3 separate regions of the Homo sapiens genome follow, and all the other regions are linked to region 3. The links are contacts of gene promoters, found by promoter capture Hi-C in blood cells and fetal thymus (Javierre and others, 2016). All regions are on one chromosome and are shown on one strand. Each heading gives the region's core, a stretch centred on a gene start or on the middle of the fragment in contact. The rest is flanking DNA. Distances are from core to core; before and after follow the strand shown. Region 1 overlaps TET3 (tet methylcytosine dioxygenase 3). Region 2 overlaps TET3 (tet methylcytosine dioxygenase 3). Region 3 holds the start of DGUOK (deoxyguanosine kinase).

Region 1 (4,329 bases), core at 1,682-4,181, 93 kb before region 3:
TAAACCGATTAACTACTGGAGCTAGATTTGATCACACAAGCATGTAAAAAAAAAAAAGTTTGGCAAAAAACAAAACAAACAAAAAAAAACCCTCCAGCCGGGGCAACAGAGTGAGACTCTGTCTCAAGAAACAAAAAAACAAAAAACAAACAAAAAACCCCCCAAACATACATTAAAAGAAATTTGCAATACTTGCCAAAGCATGATAAAGAGTTAATACCACTAATACATGAAGCTGTCTTACCATTCATAAAAAAAGCATACACAAAAAATAAAGGAAATAAAAATATATTCACAAAGAAAAAAGATCACAACTAAACATAGCAAGGAAAGATTTGCAAATCAAACATTTTGCACTCATTTTTATGCCAATCAGAAAAGAAATAGTTTTACAATAAACATGTATTATTTTGACAATCCCAGAGGGAAAAGACCAGAAACATTTAAAATGGAAAAAAAAAAAAAAAAAAAAAAAGTGTCCTAGAAAGACTGAAATAGTAACAGGAGTTCTCTCTGAGTAGAAAAATTATGGACTTTTTTATTTTTCTCTATCTGCTTATCTGAACTTTCTGATTTTTCTACAGTGAATTTTTATTCTTTGTAATAGACAATGGCAAAAAAAAGTTTTAACTATTTCCTAGAGTTTGATCATATCTGAAATGTCTTCCTGTGTTTTCACAAGTGTTTGCATAGCACCTGGCCTTTTCACAAACCATCATGGCATTTAAAGGCATATCTTTTCAGTCCTGATCAAGTACTGGAAGCCCCAAACAGGCAGCCTCTTTTGTTAACATTAGTTCACAGGCCAGCAGTTCTCAAACTCCATTGGGCGTGGGAATCACCTGTAGGAAGCTGGTTATGGATGCAGATTCCCAGGTCCCACCAGAGATCAACGCTGCCTGACCATGGAAGGGATTCTGACCCAGGTGGCCCCTGAACGACCTTTTGAGAACCCCTTCCCATAATCCTATGGGGTTGAGGGTGAGTGCAGATGAGGGGAAGGCCTCGGCTGGTTCAGAAACCAGGTGAACTGAGGTTCTTACAGGCTGACCAGGGACAGTAGTCTCTTCCCACCTCCCATATGCACATGCAGGCCTGGCCATTCAGTGGTCAGTGCTGATGCTCTCTGAAACGCCAAAACATGGATGGAGGTGGCAGTGTAGAAACAGACTTTGTCCAACGGGTGGGCTAAAGCCCTAGGCAGCCCTGCATCGTGGCCTCACTGCCAGAATGCGCTCTGCTCTGTAAGGAGGCATCTGGAACAGCTCCATCGGTTCATGGAGGTCCATCTGTCAGAGTCTCTGCTCAGCACCCTGAGAAAGCAGCTCCTCCAGAGCTGGCAGAGATGCAGCTGTGGATGCAGCTGGGGCCTCATGGGGAGCCTCAGGGCCACCTGGCTGGGGAGACTCAGAGGCCCCAGGTGGGCACTGGGAGATGAAGTAAGAAACCAACAGCAGGGGATAGGGGCAGATAGAGCAATACTTCCAGATCTTTTCCCCAATCCAGTATTTCTTGAGTGTCCTCTTGGTTCCAATGTTTCCCAGGGATTAAAACAAACCAGCAGAGGAGCCAGAGAAGCATTTCTATGTCCTCTGCCACCCTGAGCATGGGAGATGAGTGAGTGGGAAGGGGAGGGTGAGCACAGACCACGGGATAAATGAGGAACAGCTTACTGCTGCGGTCAAGCAAAACCCAGGGAAACCCCGGGACACGCTGAACCAGATGCACAACTGCTAGAGAGGGATTAGAAATCAGCTCACGTCCTCACTCCCACCTTCTTTTTATGCATGTTGAGAGGCAGAAATCCTGACCCCTGCTTAACAACAGCAGGGATTCCCTTCTCTCCAAGGGCATAGCCCTCAAGCCCTTGAACAAGAGGTGGGAGTTCCCTTGTTCCTGGGTCCCTCCAAGGCAGGTAGACATCACCATCCTTGCTCCAGGGGCAGCAGAGACCAGTGGGGGCAGGGACCTGAGAGTCTGGAACCACTGCCAAGGGTACAGAGTGAATTGGCATGCCCCAGACAGCTCCATCAAGGAATAGTGCCTGCCATTCCCCAATTACAAACAAAAGCTTACATATAAAATGCAAACACCAAGCCTGGGCACTGTGGCTCATGCCTGTAATCCCAACACTTTGGGCAGGCAGACCACTTATGCCCCAGAAATCAAGACCAGCCTGGGCAATATGGTGAAACCCCATCTCTAAAAAAATACAAAGAATAGCTGGGTGTGGTGGTATGCACCTGTAGTCCCAACTACTAGGGAGGCTGAGGTGGGAGGATCACTTGAACCCAGAGGCAGAGATTGCAGTAAGCTAAGATCATGCCACTGCATTCCAGGTTTGGTGACAGAGTGAGACTCTGTCTCAAGGGAAAAACAAATGCAAACGCTATGGTAAAGATTAGCACACGGATAGGAATAAACTTCACGTAGGACATACTGGGTTGGGGGGATGCATATACTCTGGAGGAGAATAGTAGAAGAAAAAAGAAAGGCACTACCATATGAGAGAAGGTGACTGGGCACATAGGTGTGAACCCATCTCACAATGTTCTGTACAAGCTCTGCTTCCAGCCTTGATGAGTCCTCATCCCCTAAGGGAAGCTGCAGATAAGTTTGTTTGTGCTACCTTGAAATGATTGGAAGCTAAGAAAGCAGTTCTCCCAACTAGTTAGCACTAATGAGGGCTAACAACAAGGGGGCTGTGGGTCTCAGGATAATAATGAGATAGAGGCTCAGAGGGCTCCTCCCTGATGTCTGCACGTGGAAAAATGGCCCAGGACCTCCTTTTTCCTGCGGGGACAAGGAGGGTGCCCAATCTGTTATCCAGATCACAGCCTGCAGGGCCTGGAGCCAGGGCTGCTTGAGATTCTGCTGCTCACATTGGCCCAGGCTGTCACACTTTGAAGAGGTGAAGCTCACTGTCCCTCTCATCAATCTGATGCCACGGCGTTTATTAAAAGGATTTACCGCATGCTAGGCTTTGTGCCAGGTACTGGTGACATGAAATGGAGTGAGATGAGCACCCCACCACTGGGAACTCACACTCAGGCACACAGTATTGCCACGGAGGTACAGACAATATACCATGAGGACTTGAGGGAGAAAGGGACAGAAGTGTCAGAAGAGGCAGCACAGAGCAGCTGCATTTCTAATATGCGGGCAAAGATGGGATACAAAGTATAACAGAAAAGATCCCATTCCCAACAGCAACAACAGCAGCTACAGCATATCTAGGAAGAAACTTCACAAGAAATGTGTAAGAAGAAAACCTTAAAACGTTTCATTTATTTTGTTTGTTTGGTTTTTATTAGAGACAGAGTCTCCTTCTGTCGCCCAGACTGGAGTGCAGTGGCCAGATCATAGCTCACCGCAGCCTCCAACTCCTGGGCTACAGCGATCCTCCCACATCTGCCTCCCAAGTAGCTGGGACTACAGGCATGCGCCACCACACCCAGCTAGTTTTTATTTTTTGTAGAGATGAGGGTTGGCGGGGGGTCTCACTATGTTACCCTGGCTGATCTCAAACTCCTGGCTTCAGGCAGTCTTCCCGCCTCAGCCTCCCAAAGCACTGGCATTATGGGGCATGAGCCACCACACCTGGCCTTAAAACTTTGATGAACACACAAAAAAGACTAGAATAAACGGAAAGGTCTACTTCCCTTTCTCTGGATAGGAAGATTCATTGTAAAGCTATCTATTCTCCCCAAAATAACCTGTACGTTTCATGTGATTCCAACTGAAAAATCCCAGTATTTTTCGCAGAACATGGTAAGTTGTTTATAAGCTTATTTGGAGAAAGAAATGCCAAAAAAAAAAAAAAAAGTAAGAAGTATGTTTTAAACCAAAGTATTATATAAAAATGGTGGTAATTAAAACAATGAAATACACAGAATCAGACAAATAAGTCAATGGAAGTAAAAAGAGGCCTTAAAACACCCATGACTGTAAGAGTACTTATGAAATGCTTAAGGTAGAATTCATACACTACAAGGGAAACTACAAATACCCAATAAATAGATTGGGGATAACAGGCTTTCTATTTAGGAAAAGTTCAATCCCTATCTTATATCGCATGCAAAAATAAATCTCACCTTAGAAATCTGAACATCTAAAATAAAACTTAAGTAAGAAAAGCCAAAATACTGATGAATTCTCGTTGTATAAAAATCAAATTTTTATGATAGACACAATGAAAGACAAACAGGCCAAAATTTTTTTCAAAACGTAACAGAAGTTAGTATCAAAACCCTCATAACGATGAAAGCTATACTATGTTTTCTCACTTAAGATGACAGAAGAAGGCCAGGCACGGTGGCTCACACCTGT
Region 2 (4,137 bases), core at 248-2,747, 64 kb before region 3:
CTCACGCCTGTAATCCCAGCACTTTCGGAGGCCAAGGTGGGCAGATCACCTGAGGTCAGGAGTTCAACACCAGCCTGGCGAACATGGTGAACCCCCTTCTCTACTAAAAAAACAAAAATTAGCCAGGCGTGATGGCACATGCCTGTAATCCCAGCTACTCGGGAGGCTGAGGCAGGAGAATCGCTTGAACCGGGGAGGTGGAAGTTGCAGTGAGCTAAGATCACGCCATTGCAGTCCAGCCTGGGTAACAGAGCGAGACTCCATCTCAAACAAAACAAAACAAAAAAAAAAAAGAAAAGAAAAAAAGATTGTGATTTTGCAATCACATCTGCAGGTGTTCAGTAGGAAGTGAATGACTCAGACTCAGGTAGGGTAGCTGGCTGGCTCTGTTTTCCCCAGGTTATATCTTCTGACACCACAGGGACCCAGTGTCTGTCCACTCTCTCCATCCCTAGAAAGTTGTAAGCCTACCTCTTCCCTCTCACTCTTGCTAGAACCATATACAAGACATTGTTATCAGCATTTTCCACCAGCCTTAGCACATTCTGGCCACTGGACTCCCTGATGCTCCTCTTAGGGGCTCAGACCACACTCCTGACTCTGCTTCAGTGCCATGTCCCCACTTTCCACATAATGTGCTTGGCCTTTTACCCCCTCACTCACTAGAGAACAGCCCATACAGCCACACAGATGGCTCAGTCCTTCCCCAGTCCCACCAACACCTTTCTCCTGAAGCTATCATTCATGACTGTTCTATCAGCGTTTCCTTCTTTTTTTTTTTTTTTTTTTTTTTGAGACAGAGTTTCACTCTTGTTGCCCAGGTTGGAGTGCAATGGCGCAATTTCAGCTCACTGCAACCTCTGCCTCCTGGGTTCAAGGGATTCTCCTGCCTCAGCCTAGGTACACCTGGGAGCCCCAGACCAGTTTGGTCCACCCTGGATCAATTAAATCAGAATCCCTTGGGAGTGGGGCCCAGGCACCATGTTTTGCTACATTTCCCAGGTGATCCCAATGTGGAACCCCTGATCTACATGGTTGACAGACTGAACAGGGCAGTCGTATCAGTGGCCTCCCTCTAAGATGACTTTAAGTCAAAAACTGGACTTCTCATCTGTCCAATCCTCAGGAGCTGGGATTACAGGCACCCACCACCACGCCTGGCTAATTTTGTATTTTTAGTAGAGATGGGGTTTCTCCATGTTGGTCAGGCTGGTCTCGAATTCCTGACCTCAGGTGATCTGCCTGCCTTGGTCTCCCAAAGTGCTGGGATTACAAGCGTGAGCCACCGTGCCCGGCCAGAGTTTGCTTTTTAACAAGCAATTCTATCCCTCCAGCTAATTTTCATTTAGAATCTGTGGCCGTGGAGTTAAAAACCGCTTGCATTTGAAAGACGATATTCTAAAGACTATCCATAAAAATTGTAATTCACCAGTTCAAGACCAGCCTGGGCAAAATAGCGAGACCCTGTCTCTATTTAAAAAAACACCAAGGGCCGGGCACGGTGACTCACGCCTGTAATCCCAGCACTTTGGGAGGCCAAGGTGGGTGGATCACCTGAGGTCAGGAGTTCAACACCAGCCTGGCCAACATGGTGAAACCCCATCTCTACTAAAAATACAAACACTCCTCCCTGTCCAACCTTCTTTCAGGCTTGACAAATGCTCAGATGCGGTCCCTTTCTCTAAAGATTCTCATCACTTCCACTTCTCTAGTCAATTCTCCCTTTGATGCTGAGACCAGCCTGAACACATTCCTCTCCACAGCCTCCATCTTCAGGAAGATAGAACTACCAGCAGGATGGGCAAGGATTCATCAGGTGTTCTGATATTGTTGAAAGATTCCCAATTCCAAGGTATCTTGACTCAAATCTGGCAGAGATCTGTTTCAAGATGTAAATCCAGTTGGCTGAGGGCTAGAAAGTATTCTCATCACATATATCTTTCCATTTCTCTCATTTTCACCCATAATATTCTCAGTCATGCTTCCAAACTTATGCATACATTTTTCTATGCATTTTTTTAAGGGTCATTCTCCTACTCTAATAGTTATTTACTTCCCTCATCCATGGTCAACTTTTCAGTCAGGCCTAGGACCATAGTGACTCCTTGGTGTCTAGCCTCCTCCCCCAGCACAGAGGCTGGCAAACTCCTCCCTCCCTCTGCCTGGCTCTACTGTTCTGCCCCACGGTTCTTCTATGAGCAAGTGAGGTGAATGCCTTGAGATAAACGCTTAATTTGTATTGCATCTGGAGTTGTATGCAGGCTGGAGTGCAGTGGCTCAAATATTGCCCACTGTGGGCTCAGGCGATTCTCCCACCTCAGTCTTTCCAGGAGCTAGGACTACAGGCACATGCCACCATGCCTGGCTAATTTTTTTTTTTTTTTAGCAATGGGGTCTTGCTATGTTGCCCAGCCTGGTCTCAAGTGATCATCCTGCCTCAGCCTCCCAAAGCTCTGGGATTACAGGAGTAAGCCACCATACCTAGCCCTTGTATTGCATCTTTACAGCTCGAAGACTAATGCACAGTTGTTTATGCATAAAGATTCATCATTTTCTAGATGTTTAGGAATGTTTTGTCATCATGCATTGATTACCTACTATGTGCCAGACATTATGCATATTTTATCTCATTTAATCCTCATGACAACCCTACAAAGCAGGGTTACTCCCATCTTACAATTGAGAAAATGGACACAGAAGGGATGGAGCACTGGTTGCCCAAGAGAGTAAGGGCACAGCACTTACTCTGGGTTCTCAGCCCTATCCACTGTGCTTCCTTACTCACCAAACCCTACTTTTCTACTCAGTCATCTTCATTGTACTACCAAGCCACCACTCAGGTAAAAAGAATATGAAATCAAACAACCTCCTCTAAAGTCTTCCTGGAACTAGGAAGGAAGACCACAGCTACTACCAACCTGCCCCAACCTCACATTAGGACCCAGAGAAGTAGTCACCGCCTCCTAGGGCAGGAAGGCCCATCCCTGGGGGACCTGTCTCTAGCCCTAAAATGCTGAACTTCTTTTCTGAGGGATTCCCCTGCACCCTTCTCCCCACCGACAAAGCCCAGAGAAAAAGAGTGAGGAGCAGGGAAAGAAGATGGAAAACCCAAGATAATCTCCTCCTTACAGGATGATATAAAGTAACTGCAAGCAGACAATTCAAAGGAAGCCCCAAAGTCAGCTACGAGAGATGGAGACAGAAGGGAAGTAAGGAAGAGTGCCCAGAGGAGCACAGCACTCTCACAGAGAGGAGGAAGTACCACACAGCAGGAATGCAGGTAAATGGTCTGATGTCCGAGAGGATCCTAGGATACTGCGTCCCGCCCCACCTGAACAGTCACAGCCAAAACAGCCTCCCCAATCCCGGGACATGTTCCCTCTGCCACACGGCTGCTAAGATCTAATGGTTATGGTCCCAGCAGTCCCCAGCATCTGCTAAATGCTGGGCTGGTCTTGGGGTCTCATCCACCCTGGCAGTCTCTCAGGAACATCTCAGCTTTTCAATTAATTATGCCACAGATATGCCCGTTAAATGTGGTATACCCTAGACAGTGACTCTCTGGCATTCAGCCTTCATGGACCAAAAAAAAAAAAAAACAAAAAAAACTTTTTTTTTTTTCAGAGAGAGGCACTGGTTACCATTTTGTATTTTACCAAGCTAAGACTTAAAAAAAAAAAAAAAGGTCTAATTTCTATTACACCTTCACTTCATAAAGCACATTTTAAGAAAGCGTATTTTAAACATCGAGAAGTAGAAAGGACCTATCCTTAGAAAAAAAGTACTGCTCTTTGAGTCACAGAAAGTTAGCTTTACGAAAAAACTCATTCCACTGTCCCCTTTTGTTTCTCTAGAAACAGAGAACTCCACAGATCAGCATGTAGACCCTCTGTCCTCGGACACCCAAGGCTGTCCAGCCTCACCTTACCTGACCCTGGGGCTTAGAGAGGCAGTTGGCCATGGCAAGGTCAACAGGGATGCAGACATCTCTCAGCAGGGGTGTCTCTAAGCCTCAGCCACCCCAGATCCATGATATCTTAACCAAGACCACCCGGCAGCCTGGGCCGACAGCTTACACACAGGATGACAAGGTCCTGGCCTCACTCCCAGCCCCTTTCACTCAGGTATGTTCTGTTG
Region 3 (4,408 bases), core at 1,343-3,842:
CATATCCAATTACCTATTCAACACCTCTACTTGGATATTAATAGGCATGTAAAAACCTAACATGCTTAAAACCAAGGCTCACTTCTGTAATCCCAGCACTTTGGGAAGCCAAGGCAGGAGGATCAATTGAGCCCAGGAGATCAAGACCAGCCTGGAAAATATAGTGAGACCCTGTCTCTACAAAAAATATACAAAATTAGCCACGCATAGTGGCAAACACCTGTGGATCCAGCTACTCAAGAGGCTAAGGTGGGAGGATGGCTTGAGCCTGGGAGGCAGGCTGCAGTGAGATGCAATTGCATCACTGTATTCTAGCCTGGCAACAGGGCAAGACCACACCAAAGGAGGGGAAGCGAGGGGAGGGGAGGAAGAAGGAGAGGAGGAAATAAAAGAAAATCAGGAGTCTATCTTTCAAGTACTCAAGTCAAAATAATTGGAGTCATCATTGGCCCCTCTCTTTACCTTACACTCTGCATTCAACCTGTCACCAAATCCAATTGGCCCTATCTTAAAATATAACTAGAACCCAATCATTTCTCACCACTTCCACTGTTAAATTTTACTTAAAATGTAACTCAATTTTTGTTAACGTATAACTAGAATCCAATCACGTCTCACCACTTTCACTTTTCACAATACTATAATTATTGCAATACCACTTAACACTCTTCACTTTCAATGTTATCAGCCACAGTGATCTTTTTATAATCTAAGTAAAACTGTCACTTGACTCCTCAAACCTTCCAATGGCTACCCATCTCGGTAAGATTAAAAACCCATGATAAGGCCTATAAAATCTGGCCACCCCTTGGGCTTTTGCCCTAATTTCCCTCCCATCCTTGCTCACTCGACTTCAGTCACAACGATTTCCCTCCTATTCCCCGAACACACTTTCCACCTCAGGGCCTTTCCAATTGCTCTTCACTCTGCCTAGAAGATTCTTCTCCCAGGTATCCACGTGATTTGCTCCCTCATCTTCAGTTTTTTGCTCAGATGTCACCTTCTCAGTGAGGCCTTGCTTATTTTATTTAAAATGACAACTTCGGCCAGGTGCAGTGGCTAACGCCTATAATCCCAGCACTTTGGGAGGCCGAGGCAGGCGGATCACCTGAGGTTAGGAGTTTGAGACCAGCCTGGCCAACATGGTGAAACCCTGTCTCTACTAACAAAACAAAAATTAACTGGGTGTGGTGGCGGGTGCCCCTAATCCCAGCTATTCGGGAGGCTGAGGCAGGAGAATCGCTTGAACCAGGGAGGCAGAGGTTGCAGTGAGTCGAGATCGTGTCATTGCACTCCAGCCTGGGTAACAAGAGCAAAACTCCATCTCAAATAAAATAAAATAAAAACTTCCCTCAATTCTTCATCCCTAATTTTTCTCCATCATACTTATTACTCTCTAACATATTGTTCACCTTGCTTAATTTATGTTGTTTATTGTCCATCTCTCCCTACTTGAGTTCCATGAGAGCAGAGATTTTTATTTGTTCTATTCACAGCTGTATTCTCCAGGCCAAGAACAGTGCTGGCATATGGAAGTGGCTCAAAAGGTGATTTGTTGAATGAATAAAAAAAGAAATTCTCAGTTTGCTGCTACGTCTTCAGTACTCAACACTTGCTAAGCCCCTTTTAGGGGCTCAGTGACTTGGTAGATAAAAGTATCAAGTCAGAATTTATTAATATTAAATCGAAATGCTTTGCCTTCATTTTGCTTTCTGACTACTTTTTATTCAAGATACTGGATCTCACTCTTTTAACAAAATAATTTTTAATTTAATACATGTTTTTAAGTTTAAAAAGTGAGGTTCTTCTAAGAAAAGCCTTAAGAAATTATTATGCAACTAGCACAGGCACAGGGCAAAAATTGTGAATGTGGTATTTGAACGACTGAAATTTAGGAACTCTCTTCGAATAGGGTTGCCAGATAAAATACAGGACACAGTTAAATTTGAACTTTCAATGAGTGATTTCGTTGTTGTTTTGCTGTAAGGATGTCCCAAATATTGCATTGGACACACACTAAAAATTATTCGTTATCTTAAATTCTATTTTAACTGGATATTATTTTTAATTTCTGCTAAATATGGCAACCCTATCTAGGAGAACAAATAAACTGCACCCGCTTGTCGCTTCAATTTCGATCTATTACAAACAGCTAATACAATTCTTGTCCTATCCACTAACTGCGTGGCTTTTATGCCCCAACAAATATGTTCCTGTGGGCGGGTACTGAGGCCCGATATCCTAAAAACAAGGAGGCAAAGATACACAGTGCACTTTGCGAGGGGAAAGGCTCTCCTCGCAGCCCAGAAAAAGAGGCCGGCCGCATCAGACGCAGGCCATTCCGGGCCCAGCTCCTTTCCCAGCCTCTGTCGCCTGCGTGGCGGAGGCCAAGGCTTGGCAGCCGCTTTCCGGCCCTTACCAATGTTGCCTTCGATGGAGAGCCTTCGGGGCCCGCGCCCCGCGTGCAGGCCTCTGGAGGAGGAAACGCCCTCGAGTGGGCTCTTGGCCATGGAACTGAAGGGTGCTCGAAGCCGACTTAGAAAGAGGCGGCCCGCGGCCATCCCACCCACGATTCACACAGCGATCACTTCCGCCGAGAGCACTTCCGCCCTAGGTATCGCTGCTCACTCGCTCCAGCGCACCGTTGACGTAAGGAGATCGTCAGACAGGAAGTGGGTGGGGTTGAACATGCGGCGGGGTGCGCCCAAGAGACCGCTCCGCTATCGCGATGTTTGTAAAGAAGCGTTGAGTGAAGGAAGTTTTGCAACGGTGCAGAATTTGATAGTAAAAGGAGTTGCGGTGCGAGTGGTTTTTGTTCATTGGACAAATAACATTTTAAAAGACGTAATTCCACAATCCAACCACTTCATTTTTGTATAACTTTAAAATAAATTTTATAACTGAAGACAAAATTAAAAATAGAAATTGTAATTTTAAGAGGGGATTTCCCCCCCCCCAGGTGCTTGTTGTCTGGTTTTTATTTTAATATCGGAAGAAAATGGAAGTTTTAAAGTAGGAAAATGACTCAATCTGATGATTTACACAAATTTAACTTTTTCCTATTCCCTGTAATTCCCCTGCACAATGCTGGCATATTATTGACTAAATTAACAAATTAGATAATCAGTTACACCCCATCTCTTAGTTTGTGTCTTGAATAAGTAAATAAATGTTCGGTCAATCGATTTGCATTATACCCAAAAATCCCTTCAGGATAAGGTGGTGGTGGCTCAGGTATGTGACTGGAAATTGTTTAAACCTGGTAGGCTGGGTTCTTGGACGTAAGCAATGGCGAGTAGAGACTTGTATAAAACCTGAGTCCTGCTGTCGGTGAAGTGTGCTCTGCAGGAGGGCAGGGACCTAAGCTGCTGCCACAGGTGAAGCCGGACTGCCACACCCCGTCGTCATAACAACCTCAGAAGTAATGATTTACAAAATGTTGTCAAATGGTGCTTCCAGTTCCAATCGCTTAAATCACCAACAGTCAAAACCAGGAGTCAACAGGCCAAACCGGCCTTCAGGCAGCGCTCTTAGGTGTGGCAGGTTTTAGAAGACAAGGATCTGATTGCAAGGGGGCTGGGGAGGGGCCGGGGGCTGGGATACCTGTCTTGAAGCTGTTCCCATAAAAAGCACGGGACCTTTTTCTTATGTTGATGTATATATAGGATGGCTGAGGTCATGTTTATATATTAAGAACTTTTTTTTTAATCGAATTTTTTAAGGATAACCAGGGTGGGGCGTTAATGGCTACTGGAGCGGCTAAAGTCCTACCCATTCCCATCTCCACTCCAGCAGCCACTTCTGTTAAAACAAAACAAAACAAAACAAAACAAAACAAAAAACAAAAAAAAAACTGCTTACATTTCTTTACCTATGTAAACTCAGACTTGGAAAATATTCATCCAAAAAAGCTTGAGAGGCTCTCTGCCTCGCCAGGATCTTGCTGCCTCAGGGGTGTTGTGAAAGTTAAATGAGGAAGTTGTCTGCAGGCAGGCATTAATCTCCTAAAAGCTACGAGGCAGGAAAATAGGGTCTGGAGACAGGGAACCTAAGGCCGATTTAGGCTGACTTCCTAGAACTAAATCAAAAGGAAAACCCCAACTTTCTAGCCCAAGTAACAAAAGGACCAGAAGCTAATCCCTCTTCTGGGTGGCAGATAAAAAATTGAAAGTACCTCTGACTGGTCCCCGCGGGCAATCAGTCAGGCTGGTGGCAGGCCAAGTCTTTAGTTGCATGGGGTATAACTTCATAACTTTACTTCAGCCTCTGATTGGTCCCCTCCTGCAACCAATCAGACTGATCGCTGGCCACTACTTCATTTACATAGGGTGTACACCAGGTAACCAATGGGAAACCTCTAGAAGGTATTTAAACCCCAGAAAATTCTGTAATTGCTGCTTGCTTGGGC

Evidence for each region. The method cuts DNA at HindIII sites, captures the fragments that hold promoters and counts their contacts. A CHiCAGO score of 5 or more calls a contact.
Region 1: a contact is called between a fragment that was not itself captured here and the fragment with the promoter of DGUOK in region 3, in 8 of 17 cell types (activated CD4 T cells, naive CD8 T cells, monocytes and 5 more). The highest score is 7.2, in activated CD4 T cells.
Region 2: a fragment that was not itself captured here is called in contact with the fragment with the promoter of DGUOK in region 3 in 10 of 17 cell types (activated CD4 T cells, naive CD8 T cells, total CD8 T cells and 7 more); the score reaches 13.4 in activated CD4 T cells.

What each region holds. Positions count from the first base shown.
Region 1 is chr2:74,018,241-74,022,569 of GRCh38, reverse strand. All of the region lies in intron 3 of TET3 (tet methylcytosine dioxygenase 3), which reads right to left. Among named protein-coding and RNA genes, the nearest start is that of TET3, 35 kb to the right of the region's middle. RefSeq lists enhancers at 749-1,248, 1,200-1,249 and a silencer at 1,430-1,509. The HindIII fragment of the contact is 1,716 bases long and covers 2,074-3,789 here.
Region 2 is chr2:73,988,462-73,992,598 of GRCh38, reverse strand. The region is part of intron 2 of TET3 (tet methylcytosine dioxygenase 3); the gene reads right to left. Among named protein-coding and RNA genes, the nearest start is that of TET3, 5.6 kb to the right of the region's middle. The HindIII fragment of the contact is 5,630 bases long and covers 1-4,137 here.
Region 3 is chr2:73,925,064-73,929,471 of GRCh38, reverse strand. DGUOK (deoxyguanosine kinase) reads right to left here and starts at 2,592. Exons shown (of 7, transcript NM_080916.3): 1 at 2,420-2,592. The coding sequence starts at 2,561. RefSeq lists an enhancer at 2,291-2,560. The HindIII fragment of the contact is 7,290 bases long and covers 1-3,913 here.